2 separate regions of the Homo sapiens genome follow, and region 1 is linked to region 2. Evidence: promoter capture Hi-C in human tissues and cell types (Jung and others, 2019). All regions are on one chromosome and are shown on one strand. The core of a region is centred on a gene start or on the middle of the fragment in contact, and the rest is flanking DNA. Distances in the headings are between cores, read along the strand shown. Region 1 overlaps SNX19 (sorting nexin 19). Region 2 holds the start of ST14 (ST14 transmembrane serine protease matriptase).

Region 1 (3,460 bases), core at 754-3,253, 740 kb after region 2:
CTTTACCATCCTGTGTCAGTAAGTATTTCAGCTGTGAATATTTATGCCCCTCTCAGAGAAAACAATCTTTATTTCAAGAGCACTGATCTGTTTTCTCCTTTTCTTTCCCACTGTTTATCATCACAGTGATGACATAATGTCAGTTGAGACAAATGTCCACCATAACCAAGTGAGAGGTGCAGGGCTGGAGGATATAACTGGGTGGAAAATTGAGAGGAGGAAGAGTTCAGCTAAGTATTTTAGGATCACACACAGTGTCTGCAACTCAGTACATTATGCCAGAAGTCTTACAGTCTTACTTTCAAATTGTAGACAACAAGGTAGTCAATAAAAGCTTTCTGATACTCTCAAGGCATTTTTCATCCCTGTAACCCCTGTAACAGAGAATCTATCTTCTCTTACGGCTGCAGATTCCCTGGACACTATTCAGCATCACATCCACCTTCTCTGCAACTTGAGATTCTGATGTGAGGGAGAATTCAGCAGTCTTACCTTTGAACTAGGGTCCCAAAGATAAGACGAAGAAACTTTTGCATGTTTTCGGTACATAGCCATTTCCACTGTTCTGTTAGTAGCAAGAGGAGCAGATCCAGGGCTGTGTCAGCTAACTCTGTCTCTGTTCCTGAGGGATAAAATGGCATCAGGAGTAACTCAGAAGAGACCCATACTTGAGGAACATCTTTCAAGGTACTGGTGGCACCTGTGTCTCTCTACCTTCATGCCAATCATCTGGTATTTTTGCAATCCCTCTACACTCAAATCAAAAGAGGTTTAACTCATATCTAGAAGGTTCAGTGACAGGCTCAGCATTTCTTTACAATTTTTATTAATGTTCCTGATATTGTAACCTAATAAATGTTTCTATGTTTTTAAAAGATATATATCTTCTAATTATATATATATCTGCTAAATATATATATGTGTGTATATATACATATATATATATATACACATACACACACACACACACACACACACACACACACACGCACTTATTTTGCCTACTTAGTTTCTATTTCTTCTGTATTTCCCCAGGATGCTGAATACTTTCTGTTCCAAAGAAAATCACAACTAGTGACTAAGTGTAACTGGCAAGGCCTCCTCTCTTTCCAACCTTGCATTCCACTCGCCCCCACAAAGCATTATGGAAACACCGTGGCAGAAGTGGGGAAAGAGTTGGCATTCACTTTCCTGAAAAACCTCCATTACACAGAGCTGTGGGGTTAGGATTCAGGAGGCTTCAGTCTGATTTTGAGATAACATGTGGTTCTAGGAAGAACACCACACCTCTGGTAAAATGCCATAACAATTACTACGTTCTTTCCTGTTTCAAAGACTGTAAGGGCCACAAATGAGCTTATACCCATGCTAAACTAAGGTTTCCTGAACAAATGTATTTTGTGGAAGGAAGCACGTGCTGTTTAAACCTGTCCTGGGGTTCCAATGTCACGTCTGATTTGCCTCCAAGTATGTGATGTTACAGAATGGATCTGAGATATCTGGTGCCACTGCTGTGATTAATATTATAAGTAATATCAACAATGACTTTGTTAGTGTAGGACAAACGGATACTCTCTGGATCACCTTGCCCAAGCTCTCCTTGAACATGAATGACTTCCGATTTGGACAGATCTACTAGAACTGAATCATACTTCCCTCTTAACCCTATATAATACATATTTTCTTTTCTGTTTGTATTGCAAGGATTGGGAGCTGATATGTTGTGTGATTTCTAATCATCTTCTCAAAGATGGAATATTGCATTCCTTGGGAGACAGCATCATCCTGAGCCTTAGTCCTCAATTGTATGATTCTCTCAGGTTTAGCATTTGCTTGGAGCTGCCACCATGTGGTAACAATTAGTTACAGCAGTGAAAAATAAGAAAGCAAACAAGGTACCACCAAGTCAGTTGCCTTAAAGAAAATGGTAGATTTTTTTTTGTTTTTTATAATCATATGAGCATTTTGAGTCTCTCAGAGATAGAAGAAGGGTTTCAGGCCTAAACCATCCCTCTAGAGATATGATGTTCAACATGTACAGGCTGGACTTTGCCTAGAATGATATTCTTACCACACTGACCCTGCCCCCCACCATCTTTACAGTCTCTTAGAGTTCTCTGATGCTTTCACTGTCATATCACTTCATTTAGTTAACTGTGAGATGTGTGAAGGGATGGGGCTGTCAACCCCATTTTTCACAGACTTAAATTGAGGCCCTCAGAAGAGATGTCAGGTGATTTGTTCATGGGCACCTCAGAAAGAATAGTGAAATCAGCTTTTTCCCCAGTTTTGAATCCAAGATTTTGTGATCTTTTATTCTCAACAGAGGGCTTTATCTTGATGGAACTGATATACTTATTTTAAGTTCTTGTTCAGTAACCATACTGATTAATATCTAGGGCTTTGAATTTTTCTTCTACAGAGTACACATCTGCTCTTCTTCTCCTGGAAGGCAAAATTGCTCTGCCTCCAATGCATATAAGGAGAAAGTAAAGCTTTCACCTCTTCTCCCTCCCTACTTTATGTTGGGTAACTAGGTGGTATCATCTGCCATGGCAGTAAATAAAGATAAAAAGAATAGATCTGGGGAAAAAAGACAATTTCCATCTTGAACACGTTACATTTCAGTTGCCCTGTGGTATATCCAAGTGAAGATATACAATATTCAATGTTTAAGGCATCACCACACACATGTTAGAGCTGAAGCCAACACTACAGCTGGAGTCACCCTGGAAGAGTGTGTAGAATAAGGACAGCGAGCCAAAAATCAAGCTCTGGCAGGTGGATCATGGAGCCAACAGAGTGGACTAAGAAGCCACGAAAAAGGCATGAAGGAAACCAGGAAACTGAGACACTAAGGGAAGAAAGTTTCTAAGAAATGCAAGAGTCTGATATGCCAAAGCATGCCAAAAATAAGTTTAATGAGTTATCAATATTATCAGCATGATCTCATCCTGCTGGATTAGAACTTCCTGTGTTTGTGCCCTGTTCTGCTGCTTGATTCCGCTGTGGCAACTATGTACTACTCATCTCTGTGCCCCAACACAGCACCTCCAACACTGGAGTTCAACACATGGCATGCTCAGCTGAATGGAACAGAAATCAAAGTTACAAACTCCAACTACCCCAAGTACCAAGTGGATGCCACCCTGGCTCCCTTCTCCATGGGAGCAGAGACCTCGCCACTCACCTGGATCGCTGTTGCTGGGGTCTTGGGCTGGCACGGCTGCATCTGACACGCAACTGTCCACACGTCCTTTGGGAGGTTGTTCAGGATCTTTTTCTGGGGCTTTTGTTGGCTGCATTTCCAGTAACTTTGTCTGTTTTTCAATAAAAGATTCCATCGCAGACATGGATAGAGTCTCAGACTCCTAAGAAATAGTCAGTGGCATATCACATATGGAATGCTGACAGTAGGGGAGCAAATGCAGCACTCTAGGTTTCCCTGCCTCTCCCCTGC
Region 2 (3,903 bases), core at 1,193-3,692:
AGTACCATCTCATTTACGTCACATTGAATTTGGCTTACTTTCCATCACTCACACTAGTTGAAGAATGCTGTGCCATTGGTAATCCAAAGGAAAATTTATTTTTATATATTTTCTTTTTCTTTTTTTTCTTTTCTTTTTTTTTTTTTTTTTTTGAGAGATGGAGTCTCGCTCCAGGCTGGAGTGTAGTGGCATGATCCCGGCTCACTGCAACCTCCACTTCCCAGGTTCAAGCAATTCTCCTGCCTCAGCTTCCCAAGTAGCTGGGACCACAGGCATGCACCACCATGTCCAGCTAATTTTTGTATTTTTAGTAGAGATGGTGTTTCACTATATGTTGGCTAGGCTGATTTCAAACTCCTGACCTCAGGTGATCCACCCACCTCAGCCTCCCAAAGTGCTGGAAGCCAACGTGCCAGCCTTTTAGAAATATTTTCTGTTTAGCTTTGGAATGCTTTATGTGATGGAAGGCAGCAGATTCATTCTTCTTTCAATTAAATTGACCCAATATATTGTGTTAGTCATTGTGCTAGGCTTTGAGGGTGCAAAGGCAGTTAAGACACAGACAGAAAATGCAACGAAATGGTGGTGAGCTCCATGAGAGAGGTACAAACAGAGCTAGTTCTGGTTGAGAGGGAAGGAAACTCCTGGGGAGGAGGTAGCATATCAGTCAGGAAGCGTGAGGTTTGCAGCAATAACAAACAACCCTCAGCTCTCGGTGGCTTAACATCCCAAAAGCTGACTGACTCCTCATTCATGCTACATATCCAGTGTGTGTCATTGTAGCCACTTAGGGTCACAGGTCACAGAGTTAAACCTCTCAGAAGAGAGCAGGGCATTGTGCAGTGCCTCCTTATGCTGCTATGTACAAGTGGTGTGTCCTCTCATTGGACATTTTCTTGGTTACCGCTAGCCATACTGCCATACCTAACTTCAGAGAAGAGAGAGTAACACCCTGGCCTGTGCCCAGAAGGCAGAGAGCTAAAAACATTCAATGAACAACACTAAAAAACCCCATCGGTGTCTTCGACCCAATATGCGGAAGGAGTATGAAGGAGAAGAGCTTCCAGGGGATGAAAAGCTTTATGAAAGCTGCCAAGATCAGAACGCCTGGCTGGAGAGAGGGGCTCCAAACAGGAATGCTTGGAGGCACGGTGTTAAGGGAGGACAGGGCAGAGTGTGAAGCTGGGCTAAGGAGGTTGGATTTGATCCGGGAGACACGGAAAGTCATAAAGGAGCTGTGGTTTCAGATTTACCTGACTGCTTTGTGTAGGAGAGATCAGAGGGTGGCAGCCCAGAGGCAGGAGATCTTTCTTAACCAGGCAAAGGGCTCTGAGGACTCGAATAGCGGTCTTCTAATGCGCAGGAATGGAAGGGCTATGCTTGTCAGCAGAGTCTTGATCAGATTTGGAACTAATTGGATATGAGATGTAAGCAGGGTGGAGAATCAAAGATGATTCCAGGATTTGAGCCTGGGAGAATGCTGCCATTAGAATTAGAGAAAACAGTGGAAAATGGGCAAGTCAGGGAAGGAAGATGGGGCTTGTTGATCTCAAAGCAGGGATTTTTATTTTGTTCACTCCTGTTTCCCTGTACCCAGGACAGTGCTTAGCGCCTAGTGTGTGCTTGGTAATGTTCATTGGCTACAGAATACAGTAGAACATAAATGGAGACGTCCCCAGGCGACCGCTAAGGCAGAACTGGCACTCCTTGGTGGTGTCTGTGCTGGGAGGGAGGTCTTCCTGTCTGAAGTCGTAAGATGAGACGTGCTGCCAAGAGAAAAAGCTTAGAGAAGAAAGGGATGAAACTGAAGGGAGAACTTTGGGAATCATGACATTTAGGACTAGAAAGGAGGACCGGAATCCAGGGAAAGGGGGCATTTGAGGAAGCATCAGATGCTGCAAGTGGGCGAGGGGCGTTGGGATGGCTCAGAGGGCATCTGGTGGCACAGCTCATGTCACTGGGCCTCCCCAGGGTAGCCGGGCGCAGGCCAGCAAGCGCCTCCCGCCTGGAGAACAGGAGGCTGCGTAGCCGACGGGGAGCCTGGGCCAGGGGCGGTTCTGGTTTCTGTTTGGTTTTGGGGGGTTCATAAATGCGATTTAGTCCTGTAGCAAAGTGAGCAAGGTGAAGGGGAGAGACCGGAGGCGCATGAGGGAGGAGGGAAAAGATGGTTGGCATCAAGGAGGTGGATAAAGGGCTGCCCTCCCGGGGCAGGGCCCCTGGAGGGCCGGAGGGGTGGTGAACGCCGTCGTGGTGATGGTGAGGGCCTTAGCGACCACCACCCGAGTGAGGCCCCCTCACCTTCAGGCCCAGAGCCGAGGGGAGGAGCCTCCCCCAGGGCCGGCGGGGGCGGGCAGGTGAGCCGGGCAGGTGCGCAGGCGAGCGCGGCGGGCTGGGCGGGCCGAGGCCACACCCTGAAACTACCTGCGTGGGCCGGGCCGGAGTGTGAGAGCGGAGCTGCAGCCGGAGAAAGAGGAAGAGGGAGAGAGAGCGCGCCAGGGCGAGGGCACCGCCGCCGGTCGGGCGCGCTGGGCCTGCCCGGAATCCCGCCGCCTGCGCCCCGCGCCCCGCGCCCTGCGGGCCATGGGAGCCGGCCGCCGGCAGGGACGACGCCTGTGAGACCCGCGAGCGGCCTCGGGGACCATGGGGAGCGATCGGGCCCGCAAGGGCGGAGGGGGCCCGAAGGACTTCGGCGCGGGACTCAAGTACAACTCCCGGCACGAGGTGAGCGCGGGCCGGGGACCCGGGGCGCTGGGAAGCTCCTGCCCGCCCGACCCTGCAGCGCGGCGCTGGGCTCGGCCGGCTCCCCTGGCGTGTCCGTCGGTGGCCGAGCTCTGGGCGCACAGGTGGAATTTCCTGTTCAGCGGGTGCCGGGCCGCGGGCGGGCGGGGCTGGCCGGACCTTTGGTACCGGACCGGCTGCGCCCCGCCAGGGGGAGGCGGGAAGCCCCTGGGCCTTCCTGCGCCCTCGGTCCTTTCTTTCCCTGAGTTGAAAAAAGGGGCTCCGTCTCGGCCCCTCCATGACTCTCGCGCTGTTAGTGAACATCTGGAAGAAACCAGGGGCTTGGAGTGGGGTTATTTGGGAGGAAGTGAAATTTCAGGAGGGTTTGGAGTCTCAGCCATCCTTGGCCTCTGCAGAAAGTTTCTTTCGTCTCTCTCCTTCCCCGTCAAAAGGCGCTTTGGGACCTCGCAGAGGACAACTGGGAGGCCAGGGCTTTGGCTGCCATACGGGCTGGAGCTAAGAACTCCAGAGTTGGGCTTGCCTGGGCTTCTCGAGAGGGGATGGAGCCCTTTGGGAAGGCGGCTGTATGGGAAGGGATGTGGGAACACACATGTCTTGAGCCTTTTGCGAAGTACCGAAACAGGAAGCTCTTCTTTGGCAGAAAGAACAATGAAAGACCTATTGAAAGATCTCAAAAAGATTACATGTTCCTGTATGGAGTTGGGGATGGGTCGCTAGTCACTTCATTGACGGACCCACCTAGGTGGTAGTGCCCGGGCGGGACCAGCAGCCAGGTCTCTACCCTCTCTGTCCAAGGCAGACCCCCAGGTTTCCTGGAAGGCCAGGGCATACCAGGTCAGGGCGGCGCTGAGAGGCAGGGGCTGTGTGGCAGAGAGTTTTGCTCCTCTGCAAATGATGGCCTCCCTGCCCTGCCAACCCTCACTTTCTCCCCTCCTTCCGGGTGCCCCTGGGCTCCATAGTCTCCGCCGTTGCTCCCTAAGTCAGGCCTGATTTTGGTGCTGTCTCAGATCAATTCCTTTTGTCCAAGCAGCATCCCGACCTAGGGAGCTTGCAGAAAATCAGACGCTGGGGCTTTGGAGGCTGCCTGCACCACAGACAGGACCTGGGGCTGGGCTCTGCTATTTTCTCCACTTTTCACCCTCAGCAAGGAGGAAAGCTTCCAGT

Evidence for each region. The method cuts DNA at HindIII sites, captures the fragments that hold promoters and counts their contacts. A contact is called where the count stands out against the background at its distance.
Region 1: a fragment that was not itself captured here is called in contact with the fragment with the promoter of ST14 in region 2 in 2 of the 25 tissues and cell types used here (spleen and thymus).

What each region holds. Positions count from the first base shown.
Region 1 is chr11:130,902,763-130,906,222 of GRCh38, forward strand. SNX19 (sorting nexin 19) reads right to left here. Exons shown (of 11, transcript NM_014758.3): 7 at 3,191-3,371; 8 at 493-622. Among named protein-coding and RNA genes, the nearest start is that of SNX19, 12 kb to the right of the region's middle. The HindIII fragment of the contact is 6,489 bases long and covers 1-3,460 here.
Region 2 is chr11:130,157,340-130,161,242 of GRCh38, forward strand. ST14 (ST14 transmembrane serine protease matriptase) reads left to right here and starts at 2,443. Exons shown (of 19, transcript NM_021978.4): 1 at 2,443-2,721. The coding sequence starts at 2,641. RefSeq lists silencers at 2,322-2,441, 2,522-2,591 and an enhancer at 3,679-3,903. The HindIII fragment of the contact is 3,998 bases long and covers 1,431-3,903 here.